Regions from separate parts of the Homo sapiens genome. Here region 1 is linked to region 2. The links are contacts of gene promoters, found by promoter capture Hi-C in blood cells and fetal thymus (Javierre and others, 2016). All regions are on one chromosome and are shown on one strand. The core of a region is centred on a gene start or on the middle of the fragment in contact, and the rest is flanking DNA. Distances in the headings are between cores, read along the strand shown.

Region 1 (6,278 bases), core at 1,433-3,932, 180 kb after region 2:
AACAAGGTTATATATTGATCAGGTGACAAAAAGATTGTGACCAGAGGCTCGAAGGAACCTATATTTCCCCCCTAGAAGCAATGCTTTAATAGTTGCTAATTCAGTGTTAGAGGTGACTTTATAGAACGTAAGTAACTACTGTGAATAATACGATTGATTGTATTGCCGAGTTTCCTCAGTGTGACTGCAAAACGCTCATTCTAATCCATCTTCATCTCTGTTGGCTGAGCCATCATCTTACCCACTGATTACTGCAGTAGGCTTCAGGTTCATCTCCTGGCTTCCAATACTCCCTCCTGGTACCTTGTCTCCACCAGTAACCCAGCAACCAGAGTGATAATCCGATTTCAGATATTCCTCCCCTGTTGACACTCTCCAGGAGCTCCCCCACTACAATGGGAGAAAGACCACCTCCCTGACTACAGCTAAAAAGATTCCGAATATTTGGCTCCAGCCAAATCCTCCAGTCTCATTCCCTACCCAGTCACTCGTTCATCATTACTGTACAGTCATGCTGGCCTGCCCTCAGATCCTGGAATAGGCTAAACTCAAGGACGTTGGCCCAGTGGTTTCCTTTTTCAGAGGTATTTCCCCCATTCTTTGCTAAACTGGCTCCCTTTAACCCTTTGGCCACATGCCACCTTCTCCGAGAAGCCCTTCTTGATCACCCTATTCAAAACAGCCTCCTCCTTTATTCTCTAACACAAATCCTTGCTTATATCCTTCATGGAAATGATTGCATTTGTTATTATCATCACACAGAAATCATCACAATCTGCAGTTATTTAGTTTGTGTAGTTGTTTCTTTTCTTTCTTTTTGAGACAGGGTTTCAGTTTGTCACCCAGGCTAGAATGCAGTGGCGCAATCTTGGCTCACTGCAGCCTCCGCCTCCCGGGTTCAAGTGATTCTCCTGCTTCAGCCTCTGAGTAGCTGGGATTACAGGCGCCTGCCACCACCAGCTAATTTTTGTATTTTTAGTAGAGACGGGGTTTCACCATGTTGGCCAGGCTGGTGTTGACTCCTGACCCCAAGTGATCCGCCCGCCTCAGCTTCCCAAAGTGCTGGGACTACAGGTGTGAGCCTCCATGCCTGGCCATAGTTGTTTATTTTCTATAAATTCTCAGAGAACAGTTTATTTCCACTTGAGTGTCTAATAAACAGTTCAAGACAAAATTTCCTCATCTCTGCCCTAAAACATGTTCCTCTCAGTTTCTCGCATTTTTGTAAATGAAAGCTCCATCCTTCCTGTTGCTCAGGCCAAATTGCTGGAGTCATCTTCGACTCTTCTCTTTTTCTCACATTCCCCCATCTGATGTTGGCAGATATGGTCCAACAGTCCCATCAAACAGATCCAGAATCTGACCTCTCGCCTCCTCTACGGCCATCACCTTGGTCCAGGAACCGTCACCTTTTGCCTGGGCTAATGCAGTCCCTTCCTCGCTGGGCCCCCTGAGTCTGTTCCCCATGGAGTAGCCAGAGGAATCCTGCGCACATTGAAATCAGTTCAAGTCCCTCCTCTGCTCAGAGCCCTCTCATAGCTCCTGGCTCCCTCAGAGGAAAACAAAGTCCTCGTCGTGCCCCACAGGACCCAATGCAGTCTGCTCCGTTCATTCTCTGCCCTCACCTCCCACCCTCTCCTCCTTGCTCACTCAGCTCCAGCCACACCAACCTTTTCACTGATCTTCAGACACACCAAACAGGCTCCTGCCTCAGGGCCTTTGCACTAGCTGTATCCCCTGCTCCAGCAGCTGCTCCTCAGATATGTGCTTTGCTCCTTCCCTTCATCCTTTCGGTCTTTCTTTAAATGTTACCATCTCAGTTAGGTCCTCTTCCCTGACCATGCTGTTTAAATTGCAATGCCACCCCTTCCACATATACAACCCTACATTCCCAATTCTTAATCCTTTCTTCTACCTCTTCCTCTTCCTCTTGCTCTCCTTCCCCTTCCCCTTCCCCTTCTCCTTCTCCTTCTTCTTCACAGGGTCTTGCTCTGTCACCCAGGCTTGAGTGTACTGGCACAATCACAGCTCACTGCAGCCTCAAACTCCTGGGCTCATGCAATCATCCTGCCTCAGCCTTCTGATTAGCTGGGACTACAGACTTGTGCCACCATGTCCAGCTAATTTTTTAAACTTTTTTGTAGAGATGGGATCTTGCTATGTTGTCCAGGCTGGTCTTGAACTCCTGGTGTCAAGCGATCCTCCCACCTTGGCCTCCCAGTGTTGGTATTACAGGCATGAGCTACCACATATGGCCCTTGTTTCATTTCTTGCTATGGCTTGCAGCACCACCTGACAGCCTATTTCTTTATTCATTGTTATGGAGACTTCTTGAAAAGAATGTAAGTTCTACAAGGGCAGAAGTTTTTATCTGTTTAACTCATTGGTTATCACTTGTCTCTGCAACAGTGCCTGGCTCTTGATAGGTACAAATATTTGTTGAGTAAATAAACTATATTTAACAACACCCAGGAGAGTGCTTGCACATAGTCAACACTGAAGAAATGTCTCCTGAGGAAAATAAATCAGTGCAACACTTTTTTTGGACACTCTGCAAATTCGAAGGGCTGTTATTAACATTCTAAGGTAATATTTTATGGGAACCATGCAAATAATAATAGTGATAAATGCTTGACATTTATTCTTGTAATAATGTTACAATTAAAAAAAATTATGAACCCATTTTACAGATGAGAAAGCACAGAGACTGTGAGTTTTATAACTTGTCCAAAGCAAGGATTTGCACTACATTTTAGGGTCATGCACAAAGATGTAACAGCAAGGGACACTGACCAAGGATGTTCATGGAGGGGATACAAGACGGAATATTTGGTAGACAATAAAGTTCAGGCAAGAAGACCCTTTGGTATACTGAACCCTATAACTCTAGAGACTAGGGTGCCATTGATTCAGAGAGGGAATGTTGGCAGAGGTGGGGTATTGGAAGAATGTGGGATGTAGGTTGGGTTGGGACTTCTGAGACACCCATAACAGTGTGAGAATGAAATATTCTGAGGATCCAATGTTAGCTGTGGTGAGTCACAGAGGTACACAGAATGTTGTCAGGGCAGAAGATTGTGGGCATAAGAGAATATTTTCAGGATGAACTATCATGGGAGTCTAGAGCCTTCTTGAGTGCAAAAAATAGAAGGTCTAGGATACTGGCATTGAATAAATACTTGAAGAGTTAGAGGATGTTGTCAAGGATGGTCCATTTATAGGACATATATTGTTGAGATGGGCTGATGGAAATATTTAAGAATGTGCCACAGACAGAACGTTCAGGTGGTGATCTGGGCTCATAGAAGCCACACTGATGAAGTTGAGAGACCTGGGCCATTGTCTGGGTTGGGACATTCAGGTTGTTGAGATGTTTCAGGGATGCAACATCTGGGAGACTGCAAGCCTGGCAGTGCCTGAATGCTTCTGAAACATGGAATGTTAGCTGAGATTGAGCATTTTTCAGGACATGGATCACTGGTTCAAATGGAACACTGGGAATAAGGAGCAGAGAAGGGCTAAGCAGACCATGTGAGGAAGTCATGGTGACAGGATGGAAGCCGGTACATTTCTCAACTTTTATTGTGGGCCCTTCAACCATTTTTGCTGCTGGGTTTCATATTTTCGGATTGTTTCACGGATCCACAGGACGTATCTTGAGACACGGGTGTAGACACCAGGCCGGTCAGGTTGCCCACATGGGAAGTCTCCCCAGGAGACGATGCCATACAGTGTTCTGTTACAGACCAGGGGGCCCCCAGAGTCACCCTGAGTTGGGGAAAGAAAGAGAGAGAGAGGTGGGTCCTTGCTGGGGCTAAACAAGGCAGGGACAGGGAGGTGTGGGGAGAGAGTGAAAGATGGAGAGAGACACACACAGAGAAGGAGACTCAGAGAGGCAGAGTCAGACACACACAGTGTGAGAGAAAGCAATGAAGACAGTGAGAAACAGACAAGAAGACAAACACAGAGGGACAGACAGCAAGAGACAGAAATAGGGACAGAAAGACAGAGATAGGCCCAGAGAAAGAGAGACACAGAGAAATTTCTGTGTTTTTCTCTGTTCCTCAGTTTCATTAAAATGGTAACAACTTACTTCATACCCATTTTTGTTTCCCTGGTACTAAATCACCCCCTGCCCCACACCAGCTGACCCTGCTCCTATTTAAGGCTCATTTGTGTCTCTCACTATTGAGTGAACCCATTCATATCTGGGCAGGGTATGCAACACACGTGTAAGTCTATTTCTCTTCCTGGGCCCAAGGCAGACATCACTAATCGATCAAGGCACATATCATTAATATAGTATCATACTCTTTCTCACTGAATCCAATCTCAACTTCTTTATTGATGAAGGCTATTTTTTGCTCATGTAGTATCCATTTCCTCTTATTTTTAAAAAATTAAACATTCATTTTTAAATTTTTATTTATTTATTTATTAGAGACAGTGTCTTGCTCTATTTATTTCTTTTTGTTTTAGAGACAGGGCCTTGCTCTATCACCCAGGCTGGAGTGCAGTGGCATGATCATACCTCACTGCAGCCTTGAACTCCTGGGTTCAAATAGTCCTTCTGCCTCAGCCTCCCGAGTAACTAGGACTGCAGTTGTACTCCACCACACCTGGCTAATTTAAAAACTTTTTTTTCTTTTTGTAGAGACAGAGTCTCACTATGTTGCCCAGGCTGGTCTCAAACTCCTGGGCTCAAGTAATCCTCTCACCTCAGCCTCCCAAAGTGCTGGGATTACAGGCATGAACTACTGTACTTGGCCATTTCCCCTTATTTTGGTAACAGCCTCTCCTGATTTTTTCATTTGGGGAACTGCCCTTCTCCACTTCCAATCCATGCAGTTTGTCCCTGCCCCTCTCCAGCACCCACAGTTAACTATGTGACTCAGGCTTGGCCCATCAGAGAATCCCACAGCTCTGGTGGAGTGATGGCTCAAGACACATGACTTAGGTCAGCCTAGTGAGAATCATGCTTAAGACTTTTGTGTGAACTATTGGAAAAGAGAGGTTCTCTTTCTAATAGGGTTGCCTAGAGGGTAGGATGTAAGCTCAAAGCTGCTGGGGCCATCTTGTCATGGGAAGAATCTAACCGAGAATGAAGCCAAAACAGAATAAAGAAGAGCTGAGAGTTAAAAGAAAGACAGAATTCCAAACACACAATTTGCATACCTGGATCCATCTGTGCCTAAAGCCAGACAACCTGGATTTTCAGTTACAAAAGCCTGCATTTTGTTTAAGCCAGTTTGAGTTGGTTGTCTATCACTCACAAGTGAAAGAATACCAACCTTTATGCATCTCAACACAGGGATCTTGGCAGCCACTCAGTCAAAGCTGGGGCTTATGATGAATTATTCCTGCCATCCCTGGGTACCCCTTTTTGTCTTGACCTCCTATGTGAGGGGACATTGTATCTTATAAAGATTGGTTCCCCTAAGGCTGGAAACAAAGCTTTTTCCCCAGCATCTGTCACTTCCATTCTGGCTTTCTATCCTGTCCAAGGCACCCACCAGCCTCCCGGCCTCACCTCACAGGAGTCTTTGCCACCCTCTTTTGTGCCGGCACACAACATGTTGTCAGTGATCTTTCCTGGGTAGACTTGACGACACTCCTCATCTGAGCGAAGTTGGATGTTGGCACATTGTAGAGTTTTGGGGTAATTCACTGGGGAGAAGAAAGAGAAGGTCTAAGGTATCCGACCTGGATAGGATATGGGATGAAGGTGAAATAGGCGAGTTGAATGGGTAAAGAGTAGATAGAAAATTGAGATGGGAAGAGAAAGATGGGAGAAGAGATGAGCACCTATCTGGGTAAAGCAACGGAAGTGACAGAAATATGGAGGGACATGGGAGAGAGGCGAAGGGAGAGATGAGGAGAAAAGTGGAGGGAAGGACAAGGAGGGAAGGGACAAGAGAATGGAAGGTTGATAAGGAGAGTGGTGGAGCCAGCGGTGGGGAGAGAAAGTTGGAGAGAGGGAGTTGGAATAGGGAGATGGTCAGAAATAGAGAATTAAAGATGGGAAAAGCAGGAACAGGGATGGGAAGAGTTACGGGAGAGTTGGATAGAATGGTAGGAAGAGAGACAGGGCATGTTGAGGAGAAAGATACAAACATGAGGCTGGGAGAGAGTCAGGGATTGCTAGGGAGATGCAAAGGGCTCTTGTCGGTATATACATCAACTTTATATTCACATATATAATGTATTATACTTACTAAGTAATGATATAGAATTAATTATTACATTGAATTATTAGACATTTCATTAATAACCATATT
Region 2 (6,803 bases), core at 664-3,163:
TATGCTTGGGACACTGGATTCAGGTGGTTCTCATTCAAGCTGAGGCAAATTTCCTTTCAGACGGTCATTCCAGGGAACGAGTGGTTGTGTGGGGGAAATCAGGCCACTGGCTGTGAATATCCCTCTATCCTGGTCTTGAATTGTGATTATCTATGTCCACTTCTGTCTCCTTCACTGTACTTGGAATTGATCTGGTCATTCAGCTGGAAATGGGGGAAGATTTTGTCAAATTCTTGAGACACAGCTGGGTCTGGATCAGCGTAAGCTGCTCTGGTTTTATTGAACAGATGAAATCACATTTTTTTTTTCAAAATCAAAGAAATCTTATAGAGTTAACAGTGGACTCTTATAATAAGAGTTAACACCAGGACTCTTATTCTTGATTCTTTTCTGAGACACCAAAATGAGATTTCTCAATGCCACCCTAATTCTTTTTTTTTTTTTTTTTTTTTTTGAGACACAGTCTGGGTCTTTTGCTCTGTCACTCAGGCTGGAGCGCAGTGGTGTGATCATAGCTCACTGAACCCTTGACCTCCTGGACTTAAGGGATCCTCCTGCTTCAGCCTCCTGAGTAGATGGGGCTACAGGTGCTTGCCACCACACCTGGCTAATTAAATTTTTTTTTTTTTTTTGTAGAGAAAGGGTCTCACTTTGTTGCCCTGGCTGATCTTGAACTTCTGACTTCAAGTGATTCTTCAGCCTTGGACTCCCAAAGCACTGGGATTGCTGGCATGAGCCACTCACCGTGCCTGGCTTGCAGCTTAATCTTGGAGTGTATAAACCTGGCTCCTGATAGCTAGACATTTCAGTGAGAAGGAGGCATTGGATTTTGCATGAGGACAATTCTGACCTAGGAGGGCAGGTCAACAGGAATCCCCGCTGTACCTGTACGTTGTACAGGCATGGAGAATGAGGAGTGAGGAGCCACCGGAACCCCATATTGTTTAGTGGACATTGGATTTTGAAATAATAGGGAACTTGGTCTGGGAGAGTCATATTTCTGGATTGGACAATATGTGGTATCACAAGGTTTTATGATGAGGGAGAAATGTATGTGGGGAACCATTTTCTGAGTGTGGAAGTGCAAGAATCAGAGAGTACTGAATGCCAACGCTTCTATTTCAGGAACATGGTAAGTTGGAGGTCCAGCTTCTGGGCTCAGACGGGTATAGGGACCAGGAAGTCTCACAATCCGATCATTCTGATATTTCAGGGCATATTAGGTTTGGGGTGCAAAGGAAGTACTTGGGACTTAGGCACATGAGACTTTGTATTGAAAATCAATGATTGGGGCTGGCCGTGGTGGCTCACGCCTGTAATCTCATCACTTTGGGAGACCGAAGTGGGAGGATGGCTTGAGCCCAGGAGTTGGAGACCAGCCTAGGCAACATAGCCAGACCCTCTCTCTACAAAAAAATTAAAAATTAGCTGGATGTGGTGGTGCATGCTTGTGGTCTCAGCTATCCTGGAGGCTGAGACAGGAGAATCGGTTGAGTCTGGGAGTTCAAGGCTACAGGGAGCTGCGATCACGCCGCTGCACTCCAGCCTGGGAAACAGAGTGAGACTGTCTCAGAATTTTTTTAAAAAAGAATCAGTGATCATCCCAACCCCTGTTGCTGTTCATCCTGAGCCTGCCTTCTCTGGCTTTGTTCCCTAGATCACATCTCCATGATCCATAGGCCCTGCCCAATCTGACCTCACACCGTGGGAATGCCTCCAGACTGATCTAGTATGTGTGGAACAGCAAGTGCTGGCTCTCCCTCCCCTTCCACAGCTCTGGGTGTGGGAGGGGGTTGTCCAGCCTCCAGCAGCATGGGGAGGGCCTTGGTCAGCATCTAGGTGCCAACAGGGCAAGGGCGGGGTCCTGGAGAATGAAGGCTTTATAGGGCTCCTCAGGGAGGCCCCCCAGCCCCAAACTCACCACCTGGCCGTGGACACCTGTGTCAGCATGTGGGACCTGGTTCTCTCCATCGCCTTGTCTGTGGGGTGCACTGGTGAGATTGGGGGGATAAAGGAAGGGGGGCGGGTTCTGACTCTTATGCTGAAGCCCTTTTCCTCCCACCCAGTGCCCCAGCCTCGTCCCTTCAGCCCACAGTTCAGCCCAGACAATGTGCCCCTGACTCTTCCACATTGCAATAGTCCTCATGCCCACACTAGGTCCCCGCTCCCTCCCACTTACCTCAGACCTTTCTCTCCATTGCCCAGCCAAATCCCTGCTCCCAGCTGCTTTACTAAAGAGCAAGTTCCTGGGCATCTCTGTGTTTCTCTTTATGGGGTTCAAAACCTTTCAAGGACCTCTCTCCATGCCACTGGTTCCTTGGACCCTATCACTGGGCTGCCTCCTGAGCCCCTCAGTCCTACCACAGTCTACTGACTTTTCCTATTCAGCTGTGAGCATTCAACCCTGTCCCCTGGACCTTGACACCTGGCTCCCCAACCCTGTCCCAGGAAACCCAGATTCCACCAGACACTTCCTTCTTCCCCCCGAGGCTATCTGGCCTGAGACAACAAATGCTGCCTCCCACCCTGAGTCTGGCACTGGGACTTTCAGAACTCCTCCTTCCCTGACTCTTTGCCCCAGACCCGTCATTCAATGGCTAGCTTTTTCCATGGGAAAAACACGAGCACCCCCAACCACAACGGCCAGTTCTCTGATTCCCTAAATCCGCACCCTTTTCAAAACCTCAAAAACAAAACAAAACAAAACAAAGCAAGAAACAACTCAGGCAGAACTGTTTGCTTAACCTTGGACATGGTAAACCATCCAAAACCTTCCTCTCCCAGCAACTAAACCTCTCCACTGGGCACTTATCCTTGGTTTCTGGAACCTCTTATTCTCTTAGAACCCACAGCTGCCACCACAGTGTCCCTTCTCCCAGTGTAAGACCCCAAATCACTCCAAATGACCCAACCCCCAACCCGATGCCTGCTTCAGATGTTTCCCATGTCCCCTACTCTGATCTCTGGGGTCAGCTCCGTTCTCAGAGCATGAAGCCTCCCGACCTGGTCCAGCCACCAACCCGCTAACGCAGGGAATAGCTACAGAATTGCCAGCCCTCCCAGGACCCCTTGCTTGTGTCCTGGACTCCCAGTCCTGGTCCTCTGCCCCCATGTCTCTTCAAACCCACAGCTCAGCTCCCTCCCCTATCCAATTCTTTTGGGTCTGATCCCCCTGACCCAGCACCCCCTCCGCAGGTGCCGTGCCCCTCATCCAGTCTCGGATTGTGGGAGGCTGGGAGTGTGAGAAGCATTCCCAACCCTGGCAGGTGGCTGTGTACAGTCATGGATGGGCACACTGTGGGGGTGTCCTGGTGCACCCCCAGTGGGTGCTCACAGCTGCCCATTGCCTAAAGAAGTAAGTAGGACCCTGGGATCTGGGGAGGGAATGGCTGTGTCCCACAGGAATAACAGCGGGATGCTTCCCCCAGGGTCACTTCTCAGGTGAGGCTTCAGACTAAAGGAGAGAGGGAAGGTCCTGGCCCAGGTCGCACCCGGAGGCAGAGCTGGGGCTGGACCACTCTCCCCATGGCTGCCTGGGTTTCTCTCTGTGTCTGATCTCGCTGTGTCTCTTGGTATCTGGCTCTGGTTGTGTCTGTATGACTGTGTTTTGGTCTCTATGTCCCTCTCTCTTTTCTGTCTCCCTGTGTCTGTGTCTCCCCCGTCTCTGTCTCTGGGTCTCTCTGTGGCCATCTCTGTCACCGTGTGTCTCACCCTGCATCTCTTTGCCTGTCTTTCTCTCTGGGTCTCTGCCTCAGCCCTTCCTCATCACTACTGAACACACCCCGTGAGGGTGGGTGGGGAGCACCCAGAAAAAGGAAGGACTTTAAGCTCAATGTGTGTGCATGTGAGGGGGTGCCTGTCATTGCACAGCACTCTCTGCAGGACATCCCTCCACCCTGGGGAGACACAGGGAGGGCTGGTTTCAGCTGTAGCTGGGTGCACAATTGAGGAGGGAGGAAGGAGAAGGGGAAACAAGAAAGGAGGGGAAGGTGGCCGGGCACGGTGGCCCACGCCTGTAATCCCAGCACTTTGGGAGGCCGAGGTGGGTGGATCATCTGAGGTCAGGAGTTTGAAACCAGCCTGGCCAACATGGCAAAACCCCGTCTCTACTAAAAATACAAAAAGTAGCCAGGCGTGGTGCTGCGCGCCTGTAATCCCAATTACTAGGGAGGCTGAGGCAGGAGAATCGCTTGAACCCGGGAGGGAGAGGTTGCAGTGAGCCGAGATCGTGCCACTGCACTCCAGCCTGGGTGACAGAGCAAGACTCCATCTCAGAAAAAACAAACAAACAAACAAACAACAAAAAAAATCGAAAGGAGGGGAAGGGAGCTGGAGAGAGAAAGGGGGACGTGGCCCTGAGCTGTGGGCCGGGCCACCCGCCACTACAGAGCCCTCACTCCAGCCCCAGCTGCAGGTGAGCCACCCTCATGCCTCTCCTCCTCCCCCTGCTACTCCACACTCCTCAGATGCCCCCGTGGCCTCCCTCCTTTTTCTCTCCCACACTGTATCACCCCTGGCTTCCTCTCTGCTGTTTCTCCTTCTCTCTCTGACTTCCCGCATCCTTTTCTCATTTGTCTATTTCTCACTCCCTTCCTGGTTCTGTTCTTTCTCCCTTCCTCTTCCCCATGTCTATTTCTTGCTGTCTCTGTCTCTTCTTTGCTCATCCTAATTCTCACTGTTCTCCCTTCTGTTTTTGTCATTCCTCTGCCATTTTATGCTCTCTCTTTTCCACTTCGTTTCTTTCAGTTTCTGTCTCTGCCTCTCACATGATCACACTCCTGTTTTCTAACTCACTGTCTGTATTTCACCACGACTATATCTCCCCGACCCCTGTGCTTTTCTCACTGTTTCTTTTTCTTCCCTTTGGAGTCTCCCTTATCCTCCCCTGCCCCATCTACCTTTCCCCATTTTCTCTCTCCTCATGCATCCACCCCCTTCCTCCCCAGGAATAGCCAGGTCTGGCTGGGTCGGCACAACCTGTTTGAGCCTGAAGACACAGGCCAGAGGGTCCCTGTCAGCCACAGCTTCCCACACCCGCTCTACAATATGAGCCTTCTGAAGCATCAAAGCCTTAGACCAGATGAAGACTCCAGCCATGACCTCATGCTGCTCCGCCTGTCAGAGCCTGCCAAGATCACAGATGTTGTGAAGGTCCTGGGCCTGCCCACCCAGGAGCCAGCACTGGGGACCACCTGCTACGCCTCAGGCTGGGGCAGCATCGAACCAGAGGAGTGTACGCCTGGGCCAGATGGTGTAGCTGGGAGCCCAGATGCCTGGGTCTGAGGGAAGTGGGGCCAAAGAACCAGGTGGGGTCCGGCCACAGCCCAGTTTTTCTCTGACCCATAGTCTTGCGCCCCAGGAGTCTTCAGTGTGTGAGCCTCCATCTCCTGTCCAATGACATGTGTGCTAGAGCTTACTCTGAGAAGGTGACAGAGTTCATGTTGTGTGCTGGGCTCTGGACAGGTGGTAAAGACACTTGTGGGGTGAGTCATCCCTACTCCCAACATCTGGAGGGGAAAGGTGAGTGAAGACCCTAATTCTGGGCTGCAATCTGAAAGCTAACCAGACATCTGCCTCCCCTGCTCCCCAGCTATAGCCACGCCCCCTCCCCATGCCTCATCTGCCGCCCTCCTTCCCCCTTCCCTGACTCCCTCAACACAAGAGGTGATTCTCACAGCATAATTCACCCATTCCTGTGTTGAGCACATGCTTACTGGGCACCTGCTACGTGACCAGCATTGCCGTAGACCCTGGGAAGCAGCAGTGAACAGGTAGAGAGCAGCCTCTCCCTCCTGCAGCCCCCATGCTGGTGAGGGGCACTGGCAGGAACAGTGGACCCAACATGGAAATGCTGGAGGGTGTCAGGAAGTGATCGGGCTCTGGGGCAGGGAGGAGGGGTGGGGAGTGTCACTGGGAGGGGACATCCTGCAGAAGGTAGGAGTGAGCAAACACCCGCTGCAGGGGAGGGGAGAGCCCTGCGGCACCTGGGGGAGCAGAGGGAGCAGCACCTGCCCAGGCCTGGGAGGAGGGGCCGGGAGGGCGTGAGGAGGAGCGAGGGGGCTGCATGGCTGGAGTGAGGGATCAGGGGCAGGGCGCGAGATGGCCTCACACAGGGAAGAGAGGGCCCCTCCTGCAGGGCCTCACCTGGGCCACAGGAGGACACTGCTTTTCCTCTGAGGAGTCAGGAGCTGTGGATGGTGCTGGACAGAAGAAGGACAGGGCCTGGCTCAGGTGTCCAGAGGCTGTCGCTGGCTTCCCTTTGGGATCAGACTGCAGGGAGGGAGGGCGGCAGGGTTGTGGGGGGAGTGACGATGAGGATGACCTGGGGGTGGCTCCAGGCCTTGCCCCTGCCTGGGCCCTCACCCAGCCTCCCTCACAGTCTCCTGGCCCTCAGTCTCTCCCCTCCACTCCATCCTCCATCTGGCCTCAGTGGGTCATTCTGATCACTGAACTGACCATACCCAGCCCTGCCCACGGCCCTCCATGGCTCCCCAATGCCCTGGAGAGGGGACATCTAGTCAGAGAGTAGTCCTGAAGAGGTGGCCTCTGCGATGTGCCTGTGGGGGCAGCATCCTGCAGATGGTCCCGGCCCTCATCCTGCTGACCTGTCTGCAGGGACTGTCCTCCTGGACCTTGCCCCTTGTGCAGGAGCTGGACCCTGAAGTCCCCTCCCCATAGGCCAAGACTGGAGCCTTGTTCCCTCTGTTGGACTCCCTGCCCATATTCTTGTGGGAGTGGGTTCTGGAGACATTTCTGTCTGTTCCTGAGAGCTGGGAATTGCTCTCAGTCATCTGCCTGCGCGG

Evidence for each region. Contacts are between HindIII fragments. The CHiCAGO score rates a contact against its expected background, and 5 or more counts as called.
Region 1: a fragment that was not itself captured here is called in contact with the fragment with the promoter of KLK2 in region 2 in 1 of 17 cell types (M2 macrophages); the score reaches 5.4 in M2 macrophages.

The regions. Positions count from the first base shown.
Region 1 is chr19:51,053,008-51,059,285 of GRCh38, forward strand. It overlaps KLK13 (kallikrein related peptidase 13), which reads right to left. Exons shown (of 5, transcript NM_015596.3): 4 at 5,531-5,667; 5 at 2,619-3,768. The coding sequence ends at 3,580. Among named protein-coding and RNA genes, the nearest start is that of KLK13, 8.9 kb to the right of the region's middle. The HindIII fragment of the contact is 5,539 bases long and covers 1-5,452 here.
Region 2 is chr19:50,871,526-50,878,328 of GRCh38, forward strand. It overlaps KLK2 (kallikrein related peptidase 2), which reads left to right and starts at 1,914. Exons shown (of 5, transcript NM_005551.5): 1 at 1,914-1,994; 2 at 3,196-3,355; 3 at 4,947-5,233; 4 at 5,347-5,483. The coding sequence starts at 1,949. RefSeq lists promoters at 1-1,939, 1,314-1,939, 1,586-1,939, an enhancer at 1,738-1,752 and a cis regulatory region at 1,738-1,752. The HindIII fragment of the contact is 10,018 bases long and covers 1-6,803 here.